5 separate regions of the Homo sapiens genome follow, and all the other regions are linked to region 1. The links are contacts of gene promoters, found by promoter capture Hi-C in blood cells and fetal thymus (Javierre and others, 2016). All regions are on one chromosome and are shown on one strand. Each heading gives the region's core, a stretch centred on a gene start or on the middle of the fragment in contact. The rest is flanking DNA. Distances are from core to core; before and after follow the strand shown.

Region 1 (2,700 bases), core at 161-2,660:
CTACTCGGGAGGCTGAGGCAGGAGAATGGCGTGAACGTGGGAGGCGGTGCTTGCAGTGAGCGGAGATCGCGCCACTGCATTCCAGCCTGGGTGACAGAGTGAGACTCCGTCTCAAAAAAAAAAAAGGGAACTGATTGCTGCTACCTGCAGTAGTCTTTTTCTCTCATGGCCCCTTTATGAGGTATGCAGGTATCCAGACTTAGACCCCTGTTATTCTGCTATGATACTATCTTCCTTAGCACATGTCCGTTGACTTCCATTTTACACTCCCAAAATAAGTCATCTCTCTCCTCAAACAGCTCACATTTGACATAGCCAAAATCAAATTCCCTACCTTCAAACAGAAATGAATACATAAAGAGCTAGAAGCTTTGAAGATAGTCTGGGATTTGAATCAAAGTTATGTGACCTTGGACAAGTAGGTTAACATCATTTCAGTATTTGCTGAATGCATAAACCTCCCTTCCTCCTATGAAAAGTCTCCAAAAAAGGTCCTCTCCCTCCCTTACACTCAGACACAATTTTTATGTCTGTTAATTTAATTATTATTAAGTGTTGGCAAGGACAGGTGGAGGATGGAGTTCTGGAAAAGCACACTAAGGTCTTCTTTAGTCACTAATTCTCATCCCCTATTCCTTGAAAATTTTTCTTTCTAGCCCAGTCTCCAGTCTGTCTCTCCCCAGACAACCCAAAATTCCGTGCCAGATCGGGCCTGATAGTTGTTCATTCATTCCAAAAGCTAGTTGTTCATTCATTCCAAAAGCAATTAACTCTTCCTCTAAGGTATGCTAGACACTGAGACCACAAGGAAAAGGAGCTCCTAGGCACCGACAAAGGCTAGTTTGGGGTGAGGTTATCAAACAGTGACAATACTGAGTGATAAACGCTAGGCAGAGAAAAGCAAAGGGGCCGTATAAGCAGAGACAACGAATCACATTGCATAAGCTGGACAGGGAGAGAAGCAAGGCTTAAAGAGACCTATCCCCTTGCGCAGATAATTAGACTGGAGTCCAGAGTGGATCCTTAATTTGGTCAATCACAGCGCGCCAGCAGTCGGCCAAGGACAGAACTTAGGTCTGCAAGGTGTGTTTTCCCCACCCGTGCCACCTCCCTCGAGGTTTTGGGCTTCACGTCTGAGAGCTGCTACTTTCCTGTGGGCCCACCTCCGAGGTAGCGAGATCCAAGATGCTTCTTTGGGGGCAAGGAAATGGCCCTCCACTCCCTGGCCTCTCGGATGCCTTCTCCCGAGTACCCTCCGCCCCACACCCTTAACCTCCAGGCCCCCGGCAAGGCGCGAACATCCCCACCGCAGGACTCACTCCGAAGATTCGATTTCGATCGACATAGCCGTATCTCTCCGGGAGCAGGCCCCAGCTCTCCCTCAAGGCCAGTCGCGCAACACACCAACGACACCTCCGGCGGACACCTAACGTCACTTCCGCTTGGGTCGGCGTCTGGCTCCCGCTCTGGAGATAGAGTGAACGAAGAGTAGGGGCGAGGTTCGCGTAGGGGCGGAGCCCTCAGGGGCTGTCAGAGGGCGGAGTTTATGCCCCTGCCCCAGAGAAATACGCATCAGGAGGAAGACTGTTTAAAAGCAGGCCGGAGCCGGGTGCGGTGGCTCACGCTTGTAATCCCAACACTTTGGAAGGCCGAGGCGGGCGATCACCTGAGGTCGTGAGTTCGAGACCAGCCTGACCAACATGGAGAAACCCCCGTCTCTACTAAAAATACAAAATTAGCCGGGCGTAGTGGCGCATGCCTGTAATCCCTACTCGGGAGCCTGAGGCAGGAGAATCGCTTGAACCCAGGAGGCGGAGGTTGCGGTGAGCCGAGATCGCGCCATTGCACCCCAGCATGGAAAACAAGAGCGCAACTCCGTCTCAAAAAAAAAAAAAAAAAAAAAAGAAAGATAGAAAAGAAAAAGAAAAAAAGCACCGGGCGCCATACAGCTCACAAATGTACTGAAAAAGAAAAGCGCTGGGGCGGAGCGCGGTGGCTCGCGCCTGTACTCCCAGCGCGCGAGTTCGAGACCAGCCTGGGCAACATGGTGAAGCCCCGTCTCTACTAAAAATACAAAAAATTAGCCGGGCGTGGTGGCGGGGGCGCCTGTAATCTCAGCTACTCGGGAGTCTGTGGCAGGAGAATCGTTTCACCTCTGGAGGTGGATGCGGTGAGCCGAGATCACACCATTGCACTCCAGCCTGGGCAAGGAGAGCAAAATTCCGTCTCAAAAGAAGAAAAGAAAAGTAGTGGTGATAAGATTGTAGTAAGAAAAGCAAAGAAAAGAAAGAAGAAAAGAAAGAAAAGAAAAGAAAGAAAAGAAAGAGCACTGGTTTGGAAAGATTGCTTTTTTTTTGAGACGGAATCTCGCACTGTCGCCCGGGCTGAAGAGCACAATGGCGCGATCTCGGCTCACTGCAAACTCTGCCTCCCGGGTTCAGGAGATTCTCTTGCCTCAGCCTCCGGAGTAGCTGGGATTACAGGTTTCTTGCCATCACGCCAGGCTAATTTTTTGTATTTTTAGTAGAGATGGGATTTCACTATGTTGGTCAGGCTGTTCTCGAACTCCTGACCTCGTGATCCGCCCGCCTCGGTCTCCCAAAGTGCTGGGATTACAGGCGTGAGTCACTGCGCCCAGCCAATGTTGCTTTCGTTTGATGTAATTAGTTGATTAGATTTAAGATGAGGCTGAATATGCAA
Region 2 (2,700 bases), core at 129-2,628, 140 kb after region 1:
AGGCTGGAGTGCAGTGGTGTGATAACAGCTCACTGCAGCCTCGACCTCCCAGACTCAAACAATCCTCCCAACTTAGCCTCCCAAGTAGTTGGGACCACAGGTGCATGCCAATACATGTGGCTAATTTTTTAAAATATATTTTGTAGAGATGGGTCTCCCTATATTGCCCAGGCTGGTGGCAAACTCTTGGGCTCAAGCGATCCGCACACTTCAGCCTCCCAAAGTGATTACAAGTGTGAGCCACTATGCCCAGCCTCTTTTTCCTTTCCGGTTTTTTTTTTTTTTTTGGCAGGTCAATTGTTACACACTCCTTAGCAGATTCAGACTTTCAGACTTACATGGAACACCAACCTGCTTATTTTGTTTTTTATTTTTGCTTTATTTTTTTTTCTTTTTGAGGCAGGGTCTCACTCTGTCACCCTGGCTGGAGTGCAGTGGTGAGATCTCGGCTCACTGCCACCTCCACCTCCCGGGTTCAAGCAATTCTCCTGCCTCAGTCTCCTGAGTAGCTGGCATTACAGGTGCACACCACCACGCCCAGCTAATTTTTGTATTTTTAGTAGAGACGGGGTTTCACCACATTGGTCAGGCTTGTCTCAAACTCCTGGCCTCAAGTGATCCATCCACCTCAGCCTCCAAAAGTGCTGGGATTACAGGCCTGAGCCACCACACCTAGCCTTATGTTGTTTTTTAAGAAAACACACACATTATGTTATGCTCACGTTATCAGAAACAAATGAGACTGACCCTGGCAAGTCCCAACCAAGGAATCTGTCTCCAGATATGCCTTGGCCTGGTTGACTCTTGGAGTTAACCCTTCAGAAAGCAGGAGGCAGAGACCCTTCTGATGAGGGCTGCCTCTAGGAGTGGGACTGCTTCAGTGGATCCAGCTGAATTGTCCTGAGCAACTGTTGTAGAGATATGGGGAGTACTTAGTCTTCCAGCTGAGGCCAGGTTGGGCCACTGTGCAGTGGGCTGCTGGAAGACAAGTTGAGTCCAAACTAGCCCAGTTCTTGAGGAGCAACCACGTGACTCTATCACCGTGATATGCACAGGTTGTGACTGGTGTCCTCAGACTGGAAAACACAGTAGTGCCAGCTCAATCAGGATAGGAGAGAGACGTATACGTTGACATTTGTCTTCCTATCCGGATGAGTGTGGTCCTGCCTTTGGGCCTTTCCTTGGGCCCTCCCCTCTATGTGAAATGCCATCTCTACTAGCGAGATTCCTGTCTGATTTATTTGTTTAGGTAGAATAGCAAGAAGTCTACATCCTGATGATCCTGGGCATTGGGAGCTCACCTCACCTTCTCTGGACTCTGGAGGGCACACACATATGGTCCCTGCTGGGGGATGCTTCGCACACAGACCGTCTTCCAGAGGCAGGGGCAGGGAAACTGCTGTCAGGTGGGTGTTGGGATCTCTTTATATTTAGTTTTGTTGTGCTGTGGTTATTGATGTTGCGGTTTTCAGTTTCCTTCCCTCGTAGTTACTCCCCACCTGGGCTAGCCACTCTCTACCCATCACAGGCCCAAGTCTGTGAGAAGGGGCTTCTCTTAGGTCCTCACCAAGGCCCCTTCCCAAGGTCCCTTCCCAAGGCCCAACCTGCCCACAGTCTCACCGAGGCCAGCAGGGCCCAGGTCTGGGCCCAGGTCCAGTCCCAGGCAAGGGTATTGTGTGTGCTTCCTGATAGGTCAGGCCGCCCTGAACCCTCCAGGCACACTGGCCCTAAATGTGTCTGCTTCCTGAAGGGTCAGGCTGCCCTGAACCCTCCCTGCGCTTCCTCTTGTGACCAGTGTTGAAGATCAAGAGGAAGAGGAAGAGGCCAAAAATTCTTCACACAGAGCCCTGGGCTCCGAGCCCCTGTGGCCTGTCACTTACCTGGTCCACAGCAGAGGTGGTGTCTCTAGATGAGGGTAATGGGAAGCATCCTTCCCTCATGCCCTGCTCCCTTCCTCCGAGCCATACCCATTACACTGAGCCAGTCACGGCAGACATCTAGGCAGAAGGGACCACAGGGGTGGCCTCGTTGCCTGTCCTTGCTCCCTCCACACTGCATATCTGCAGTCTAACCTGCTGAATCACAGTCCTTGTTAGGTGAGGGCCAGGACAGGAGAGAAGACACTTCACTTGTTGCCACTACCAGTCTTTCTATACCCTATCTTTGTATTCTGTCTGCCTGGCCTAGTATGGAGCCCACTAGGTCAGCCTTTGACCAATACCCCACACAGAAGTATATTTTGGTTCTGTTTACATTCTTGTCAGAAAGCCCGCTATTTTAAGTCAGCGCCTCTCAAACGTGAATGCGCATAAGGATCACCCAGGGATCTTGCCACAGCCTAAGTCCTGATTTGGGAGTTCTAGGTCAGGACATTCTGCATTTCTAACAAGCTCCTGATACTGCAAAGATGGAAGGGACCCAGGCTTATTTCTAGGCTCAGATGAGGTCTTGCTTGTTCTGTGAAGATTATCAGAGTGCTGATGTCAGAATTAATCACTTCATCCATCATTTCCTGAACACCTGGCTCAGCCGTTGTCCCAGGTGCCAGCACAGTCTGCCCACATCTGCTCCCTGACTAGTCTGGGGGCTACTGGGACACGTAGTCTTTGTAGCCGTACTCCCTAGCATGGAGGATGCTCAGCAGTTTGTTTGAGCAAATTAATGAACAAATTAATGGCATTTGAAGGTGATTTGCAAAAG
Region 3 (2,700 bases), core at 103-2,602, 230 kb after region 1:
TTTGGGAGGCCAAGGCGGGTGGATCACGAGGCCAGGAGATCGAGACCATCCTGGCTAAGACGGTGCAACCCTGTCTCTACTAAAAATATAAAAAATTAGCCGGGTGTGGTGGTGGGCACCTGTAGTCCCACCTACTGGAGAGGCTGATGCAGGAGAATGGCGTGAACCCGGGAGGCGGAGGTTGCAGTGAGCCGAGATCATGCCACTGCACTCCAGCCTGGGCTACAGAGCAAGACTCCGTCTCAGAGAAAAAAAAAAAAAACTTAATCCTCTGCATGGACTATTTTTCCAAACCCTTCATGACTACCAGAGATTAAAACTGTTGCAGATCAAGTGATCAGCACCATGTCTGAAAGAAAAGAACACCTTAAAACCTGCTCCTGCTCTTTTGTGGCTCTGGAGCTTTCACACTTGACTTGGGAACTTTCTTTTACTTTCAGGACCATAGAAGCCCATTCCCCAGTAGCACTTTTCTGGTCTCCAAGAAAGCTTTGCTTTCTCTCATTTACACTTGTTAGGACTCAAAAGTGACAGAGACAGGGTCTCGCTCTGTTGCCCAGGCTTGAGTGCAGTGGTGCTATCGTAGCTCACTGCACCCTTGAACTCCTGGGCTCAAGCGATCCTCCCACCTCAGCCTCCCAAAGTGCTGAGAGTACAGGCATGAGCCACCATGCCTGGTGTGAACATCAATATTTTTAAAAGCTCTCCAGGCACTTCCAATATATAGCCAGTGTTGTGGACCTCTGGTCTAAAAGTTAAGAAAACCTGAGATTGAGGAGATTGAGTCCAGGCTTCTGAGATATTTGACATAACCTAGAATCACCCACACCTGACAAGCAATGAAAATTGTTTCACCCGAAAGGATTGAGGTATATATAAAATATAACTGTTGAATAATGATACTCATCTTTAAAGAAACATGCTTAAACTTATGTCTCCTATGGGTATTGTCTATCAAAATGAGTCATCTTAGAAGACTAGACACTTGTTCCTGGATTGTTTTCAATGTTTAAACTTTATTTAAGAATTATCAGAGCTTGTTTAGGAGTTTCATAGAAACTAAACATTCCAGCCAGACCACTTTATAAGCACACTAATGTTTTACAGCAAATTCTGTTACCCATCTGATTAATTAGTCTTGGCTCTGATTGGCTTTTGATTCCCAAAGGGTTGTAATTTGCCACCTAGAATATACCCCTCCTACTCCAAAAACAGTTGTCGTAGAAGTTCCCAAAATGTTTTAAGTAGTGGTATTTCTGTACCACTGTGTAATTTGCCAAAGTGTCTGCTTTGAAGAGGGCAGTATATATTTGAATATACAAATTCCGTATTGTAACTTTTTTCTATTGGTCTCTATAATATAGCTCCTAAAATAGCATTTTTCAGAGGGCTAATTCTGACCTATAGCATATCACTCAGCCCAGTTCTTTCCATGACCCCCTTCCCTTTCATTCTCTCCATGTTACTCACTAGCATGCCTCCCCTCATGTCAGCCTTCTTTTCACTGTTCCATTGTTTGCCCAGTGCCTGATTATTACTTCACTAGCTGATAGTATGTCTGTACTTCTTACGGACCAGGTAGATTTGAGTTCTATTACTTTGCTTAGACTCTGATCTTCTACAGGACCCTATTAGCCATTCTGCCTTTTACCTGAGTAGCAAACTATTTTTATCCCCACACACTGCTGTAAGTGGGCCAAGACTGTATTTGAAAATGTCATCTTTGACTCTCAGACCCAAATATAACCAGTATTTTGACTTGGGATTTACTTCTGTGGTTAAATAGTCTGTGGTGATAATGATGTCGATTTTTTGCACATAAAAGTACAGTTGATATCTTTGTTCAAATAGTTTAATCAACTTTAAACAAATACAAAGACATGTCATAGTAGATGTATTTGTTGCCATATTCACAATAAGACCCAGCTGGGACAGCTTTGTTCGGGTTTGGATACATGGCTGTGGTTTATTCAGTGAAACCTTTCTCTTTCAGTCTCTGCCATCCAGGACCCTGCCCACCCTGCCCTGCCTTTATGACAAAAACATGTGAATGTGGACGAACCAGGTAAAGTTAAAATTACACCCTAAAGAAGACCTCAGTTTTCACATGCATGATTGACTTGTGAATTTCTGAAATAAAAGAATAGTAGGTAGATACAAATAAATGGTAGGCATGAATAGTACTTTTTTTTTTTCAGGAGTGAAAGTTTATTAAAAAGCTTTAGAACAGGAAGGAAAGGACAGAAGGAAAGTACAACTTGGAAGAGAGCCAAGTGGGCAACTTGAGAGACCAAATGTGCCATGGATAGTACTTTTCTGTAACTAGTAGTTCCCTGTGCTGCCCATGACCCTATTTTGTAATCTTATAAGTGATTAAGAAGTTATATGCACAATGAGATTGTGAGACTACCCATTATTTCGGGTAAAATACCAAAGTGACAAGGATTTTTTTTTTTTTGAGACGGAGTCTCGGTCTGTCACCCATGCTGGAGTGCAGTGGTGCGATCTCGGCTCACTGCAACCTCTGCTGCCTGGGTTCAAGCAATTCTCCTGCCTCAGCCTCCCAAGTAGCTGGGATTACAGGCGCCTGCCACCGCACCTGGCTAGTTTTTGTATTTTTAGTAGAGATGGGATTTCACCATCTTGGCCAGGCTGGTCTTGAACTATTGACTTCGTGATCCACCCGCCTCGGCCTCCCAA
Region 4 (2,700 bases), core at 65-2,564, 250 kb after region 1:
ACACTGGAGATGTGGGGCCTGAGGAAAAAGAAGATTTATTCTGTGTTTTTGTTATTTGTTTTGAAACAGGGTCTTGCTCTGTCACCTAGACTGGAGTTCAGTGGTGCGATCACAGTTCACTGTAGCCTCAACGTCCCATGCTCAGGAGATTTTCCCACCTCAGACTCCTGAGTAGCTGGGACTGTAGGCCTGCATCACCACTCCTGGCTAATTTCTTGTTTTTGTGCTTTTTTTTTTTTTGGTAGACACAGGGTTTCACCATGTTCCCAGGTGATCTCGAGCTCCTGGGGTCAAGCGATCCTCCCACCTCAGCCTCTCAAAGTGCTGGAATTATAGGCATGAGCCACCACACTTGGCCTTTTTTTGACTTAGGCAAATCGTCGTATACTTTAAAGCATATTCCAGTGTCTAAGCTGGGCCCTGAAGTTGTCAGAAAAGGCCCAGTCTGCCAGATGAAGGGAAGATAGGGAAGAAGCATTGACTGCATACTTCCCTCAACTCTGATTCTGGAGTTGCAGGGCATGGAGGGGAAGACCAGTGTGGCTAGCAAATTTGGGAGTATGAAAATGAGTAGTTGCAGTTTTCATTTCCAGCTCTTTTCGTTTTTATTAAAGATTTCATTCATACCTGTGAAAAGCTCTGCCATGAAGGAGACTGTGGACCATGCTCTCGCACATCAGTTATTTCCTGCAGATGCTCTTTCAGAACAAAGGTAAATCCTAAACAATGCTAGAGTTGTTGCCATCAATGTTTTCTTTAAAATGGTGATTATGGGAGGGGAGGAATCAAAATAACCTCAGTAGATTAGGTATGGGAAGTGGTTGTGGCACTCAAGGTCCAGAGGCCTATAGTGGGATAAGGCAAATATACAGATCACTCTACCAAATACAGGTGTGATAGTCTGAAAAGGGGAACAGTAGCACTGTTGCAAGGAGTCAGCCAACTAAGAAGTTAGAGGAAACACAGTCCATATGACCACCCACTTGTGGCACCAACTTTTGATACCAATTGAAAGTTCAGTGGTCCCTAAGACCACCTGCGAGGCTTGATAATTTGATAAAAGGACTCACCGAACTTGCTGGTGGTTACACTCATGGTTAGAGCTTTACTACAAGGAGGTTACAGTTTTATTACAAGGAAAAGGATACAGATTAAATCAGCCAAGGGAAGAAGTATGTAGGACAGAGTCCAAAAAAATACCAAAGGTGGAACTTCATTTGTCCTTTCCCTGTGGAGTCAGGAAAGTATTACTCTCTCCGCTTCAGTGTGTGCCAGCATACATGGAATATTGCCAACCAGGAAAGTTCACCCAGACCTGTGTGTTCAGTTTTTATTGGTGCTCTATTGTGCAATCATAGTTGACTGCCCATGTGGCTAATCTCAGTCTCCAGTCTCTCCCGAGGTGTACCGATACCATGTGACCCAAAACCCCTGCCCTAAAACTATCCAGTGTGGCCAGCCTGCTCCTAAATCACGTAATTGGACTATCCAGTGACTCAAGACTCCAGGCAAACAATGACACTTATATCAGGCATGGCATTCCACTAGGCTTAGAGATTACCTCTCAGAAGCCAAGCACAAAGGCCAGACTCTCTTTAAGTAAGGTTTAATTCTTCACTGTACATCTGTTTTGTCAGTTTCTACTTTCTGGTGAAAGCCTGGATGGTTTTTATTTTTCTTTTTTTTTTTTTAATTTTATTTATTTATTTTGAGACAGAGTCTCACTCCATCACCCAGGATGGAGTGCAGAGGCGCAGTCTTGGCTCACTGCAGCCTCCACCTCCCAGATTCAAGTGATTCTTATGCCTTAGCCTCTGGAGTAGCTGGAATTACAGGTGCATGCCATCACACCCGGCTAATTTTTGTATTTTTAGTAGAGACGGGATTTTGCCATGTTGGCCAGGCTGGTCTCAAACTCCTGACCTCAAGTGATCCTCCTGCCTCAGCCTCCCAAAGTGCTGGGATTACAGGTGTGCACCACCACTCCTGGCTAATTTTTGTATTTTTAGTAGAGGTGGGGTTTCACCATGTTGGCCAGGCTGGTCTTGAACTCCTGACCTCAGGTAATCTACCCGCCTCAGCCTCCCAAAATGCTGGGATTACAGACGTGAGCCACTGTGCCCAGCCTACCTTGGATAGTTTTCATCAGACTTTATGTTATAAAAAGTCTTCGGGTGATTCAGCTTGGGGAACACACTGAGTGTTGATTTATCCTGCTCTTTGACCTACTTAGTCATTTTAGTGTATATCAACATTTGTCCCAGTAGAGTACAAGCCAGGGTGGAGACAGAATTGTGAACCGTTGGTTCTGTTAAACACAATGCAGGGTCTGGCAGCATCTGACTTGCGAATAATTCTGAGGATATAGTCCATAAATGGGAAGCTAGTTTAATAGGAAAACTTCAGAAAAAAGGGAAAAGTAGTATAATTTACATGTTACAAAAGTTGTGTAATCATATATGGGTTTTTTCCTGAAAGAAATTACAATATACATAGGATAACAGAGGCATTTTTGAATGTCAGGTATGGGACCACTTTTGTACTTTGTAAATACTGTATTAAAGACTGAGATGCTGTGATTTGGCAATCATAAATTTAGTAATGCCCAGAGATGCTCTTTGTGATCTGTGTGACTGAAAATTGTAAGCAGGGTTGGGACATGTAAGCTGGAAGTGGCTGCTGTCAGTTTTCTTCATTCTC
Region 5 (2,700 bases), core at 149-2,648, 210 kb after region 1:
CAGCTAATTTTTTTTTCAATTTTTAGTAGGGATGGGGTATCACTATGTTGCCCAGGCTAGTCTGAAACTCCTAGCCTCAAGCGATCCTCTCGCCTTGGCCTCCCAAAGTGCTGGGATTACAGGTGTGAACCACCCCCACCCCAGCCCTGTTATTCTTTTTCCAATTTCTTAAGGTGGAAGTTTAGGCTATTGATTTGCAATTTTTCTTCTTTTTTATTAATAAACTTTATTTTTTTAGAGTTTTGGGTTCACAACAAATTGAGTGGAAAACACAGAGAGCTCCCATATAACACACAACCTTCCCGCTATCAGCTTCCCTCACCACGGTGGTATGTTGCAATCAGTGAATCTACACTGACACATTATTATCACACGAAGTCTATAGTTTACATTAGGGTTCACTCTTGATGTACATTCTATGGGGTTTTTTGTTGTTTTTTGCTTGAGATGGGGTCTCACTGTGTTACCCAGGCTGGAGTGCAGTGGCATGATCTCAGCTCACCACAACCTCCGCCTCCCGGGCTCAAGTGATCCCACCTCAGCTTCCTGAGTAGCTGGGACCTCAGGCGCATGCTACCATGCCCAACTAATTTTTGTATTTTTAGTAGAGATGGGGTTTCACCACGTTACCCAGGCTGGTCTTGAACTCCTGGGCTCAGGCGATCCATCCGCCTTGGCCTCCCAAAGTGCTGGGATTACAGGCATGAGCCGCCATGCTAGTGATTCTATGGGTTTTAACAAATATAATGACATGTATCCCCCTTTGTAGTATCATGCAGAATAGTTCACTGCCCTAGCAATAGTTCACTACCCTAGCAGTCCTCTGTACTCTGCCTATTCATCCTTCTCTCCCCTTTAACTCCTGTCAACCACTGATCTTTTTACTGTCTCTATAATTTTGCCTTTTCCAGACTGTTACATAGTTGGAATCAAATAGTAAATGGTCTTTCCAGATTGCCTTCTTTCACTTAGCAATATGCATTTAAGTTTTCTCCATGTCTTTTCATGGCTTGATAGTTCATATGGATTTGGGATTTTTTGTCTTGTTTGGTGTTTTTGAGACAGGATCTCGCTCTGTCACCCAGGCTGGAGTGCTGTGGTGCAATCTTGGCTCACTGCAGCCTCCGCCTCCTGGGCTCAAGTGATCCTCCCACTTCAGCCTCCTGTGTAACTGGGACTACAGGTATGCACCACCAAGCTTGACTAATTTTTGTATTTTTGGTAGAGACTGGGTTTCGCCATGTTGCCCAGGCTGGTCTCGAACTCCTGGACTCAAGCGATCCACCTGCTTTGGCCTCCCAAAGTGCTGAGATTACAGGCATGAGCCACCATGCCTGGTCTTTGGGTATTTTTTGTTTGTTTGTTTTTTGATAGTATCTCGCTATGTTGCCCAGGTTGGGCTTGAAATCACCTGGGCTCAGACAATCCTCTTGCCTCAGCCTCCCAAGTATCTGAGACTACAGGTAAACACCAACATGCTGGCTTCATTTGTTTTGGGCACTGAATAATATTCCATTATCTGGAGTTCTTTTTCAAATATAAGTGTTTACAGCTATATATTTCCATCTTTCACCACCTGCAGCTTTCACCACCTGCCATAAGCTTTAGTATGTTGCATGAAATAGTTTGTATAGGAAAGGCAAGATAAATGCTTGCTTACTTTCATTTATTCACAAGTTTTGAAAATAATGAGTAGATTCTGTAGAGTGCCAATTATGAATTTGCTTTCAGTTCTACATTTATTGTTTTTGCTTGCTCTGTGAAATGGATTTCGGCCTTTTATTTATTCTTTGCCAGCTGGCAGATATTAAACCTTGTCAGCAGAGGGCACTGGAGAGATACTGCAGGAGGAAAAGGGTTTTGGCTCCTGTTTCTGATTTCAGTGGGGCAGGCTTCTGTAGTCTGGGCAACTTCTTCAATGGCTTCTGCAATGCACTGGCTTCTTCAGTGCCTGGCTATCGCACTATATAGTGACCAGTTGTCAGAAACTTCTCCTAGCACTCCCCGCAGATGGTTTGTAGTAGAGTACCTCTGGTGAGACACCTCCCCAAGAATGGCTTCAACCAGCACTCCGTAAGAAAAATGTCTGGCAACTTCCATGCCATCCAGTGAGCCACAGGTCTTTTCTCTAACGAGGTCTGCAGGCCAGCTCTGGTCTCGGCTCTTCTTTGACACTCTTACCTCAGCCCTAGCTGCTCTTTATATATGGTAATCCTGTTTTGGAATTATCTTGCTTCTTTACTAGCCAATCCATTATTATTCCAACCCCCTATTATACTTAATAAATCTTTAAATAAAACTTTCCTTATTAAAAAAATGTAATTCCTGTTCAAAAAGTGGGGTTCTTCTCTCCTGATTGGACCCAGACTGATACACCTGGTAATTTTTAAAGGTGACTATAAAGTTTGATGAGCTGTCAAAATTAAGGATTTATGTTCAACAAAGGACAAAATTAATATTTAATGGAATAGAAGACAATTTAAATGTCTAAAACTGACGAGTGACACCTGTAATATACAAGAAACCATCAGGAAGAAAAATGGGCAGTGGATATGGATAAGCAGTTTTAAAAGGAGGAAACTCAAAAGACCATCATTAAATGTTTGGCCCGGCACGGTGGCTCACGCCTGTAATCCCAACACTTTGGGAGGCCTAGGTGGGTGGATCACCTGAGGTCAGGAGTTCAAGACCAGCTGGCCA

The links. Contacts are between HindIII fragments. The CHiCAGO score rates a contact against its expected background, and 5 or more counts as called.
Region 2: a contact is called between a fragment that was not itself captured here and the fragment with the promoter of SMU1 in region 1, in 17 of 17 cell types (M2 macrophages, total B cells, total CD8 T cells and 14 more). The highest score is 37.1, in M2 macrophages.
Region 3: a contact is called between a fragment that was not itself captured here and the fragment with the promoter of SMU1 in region 1, in 2 of 17 cell types (total B cells and M0 macrophages). The highest score is 6.2, in total B cells.
Region 4: a contact is called between a fragment that was not itself captured here and the fragment with the promoter of SMU1 in region 1, in 1 of 17 cell types (total B cells). The highest score is 5.3, in total B cells.
Region 5: a contact is called between a fragment that was not itself captured here and the fragment with the promoter of SMU1 in region 1, in 5 of 17 cell types (naive B cells, total B cells, monocytes and 2 more). The highest score is 10.6, in naive B cells.

Annotation. Positions count from the first base shown.
Region 1 is chr9:33,075,264-33,077,963 of GRCh38, forward strand. It overlaps SMU1 (SMU1 DNA replication regulator and spliceosomal factor), which reads right to left and starts at 1,411. Exons shown (of 12, transcript NM_018225.3): 1 at 1,320-1,411. The coding sequence starts at 1,345. RefSeq lists enhancers at 1,273-1,422, 1,593-1,792. The HindIII fragment of the contact is 3,581 bases long and covers 368-2,700 here.
Region 2 is chr9:33,219,703-33,222,402 of GRCh38, forward strand. No RefSeq gene overlaps it. Among named protein-coding and RNA genes, the nearest start is that of SPINK4, 19 kb to the right of the region's middle. The HindIII fragment of the contact is 3,336 bases long and covers 1-2,700 here.
Region 3 is chr9:33,309,113-33,311,812 of GRCh38, forward strand. NFX1 (nuclear transcription factor, X-box binding 1) reads left to right here. Exons shown (of 24, transcript NM_002504.6): 6 at 1,994-2,065. Among named protein-coding and RNA genes, the nearest start is that of NFX1, 20 kb to the left of the region's middle. The HindIII fragment of the contact is 1,730 bases long and covers 488-2,217 here.
Region 4 is chr9:33,327,967-33,330,666 of GRCh38, forward strand. It overlaps NFX1 (nuclear transcription factor, X-box binding 1), which reads left to right. Exons shown (of 24, transcript NM_002504.6): 10 at 615-712. Among named protein-coding and RNA genes, the nearest start is that of NFX1, 39 kb to the left of the region's middle. The HindIII fragment of the contact is 7,999 bases long and covers 1-2,700 here.
Region 5 is chr9:33,285,364-33,288,063 of GRCh38, forward strand. No RefSeq gene overlaps it. Among named protein-coding and RNA genes, the nearest start is that of NFX1, 3.8 kb to the right of the region's middle. The HindIII fragment of the contact is 404 bases long and covers 1,197-1,600 here.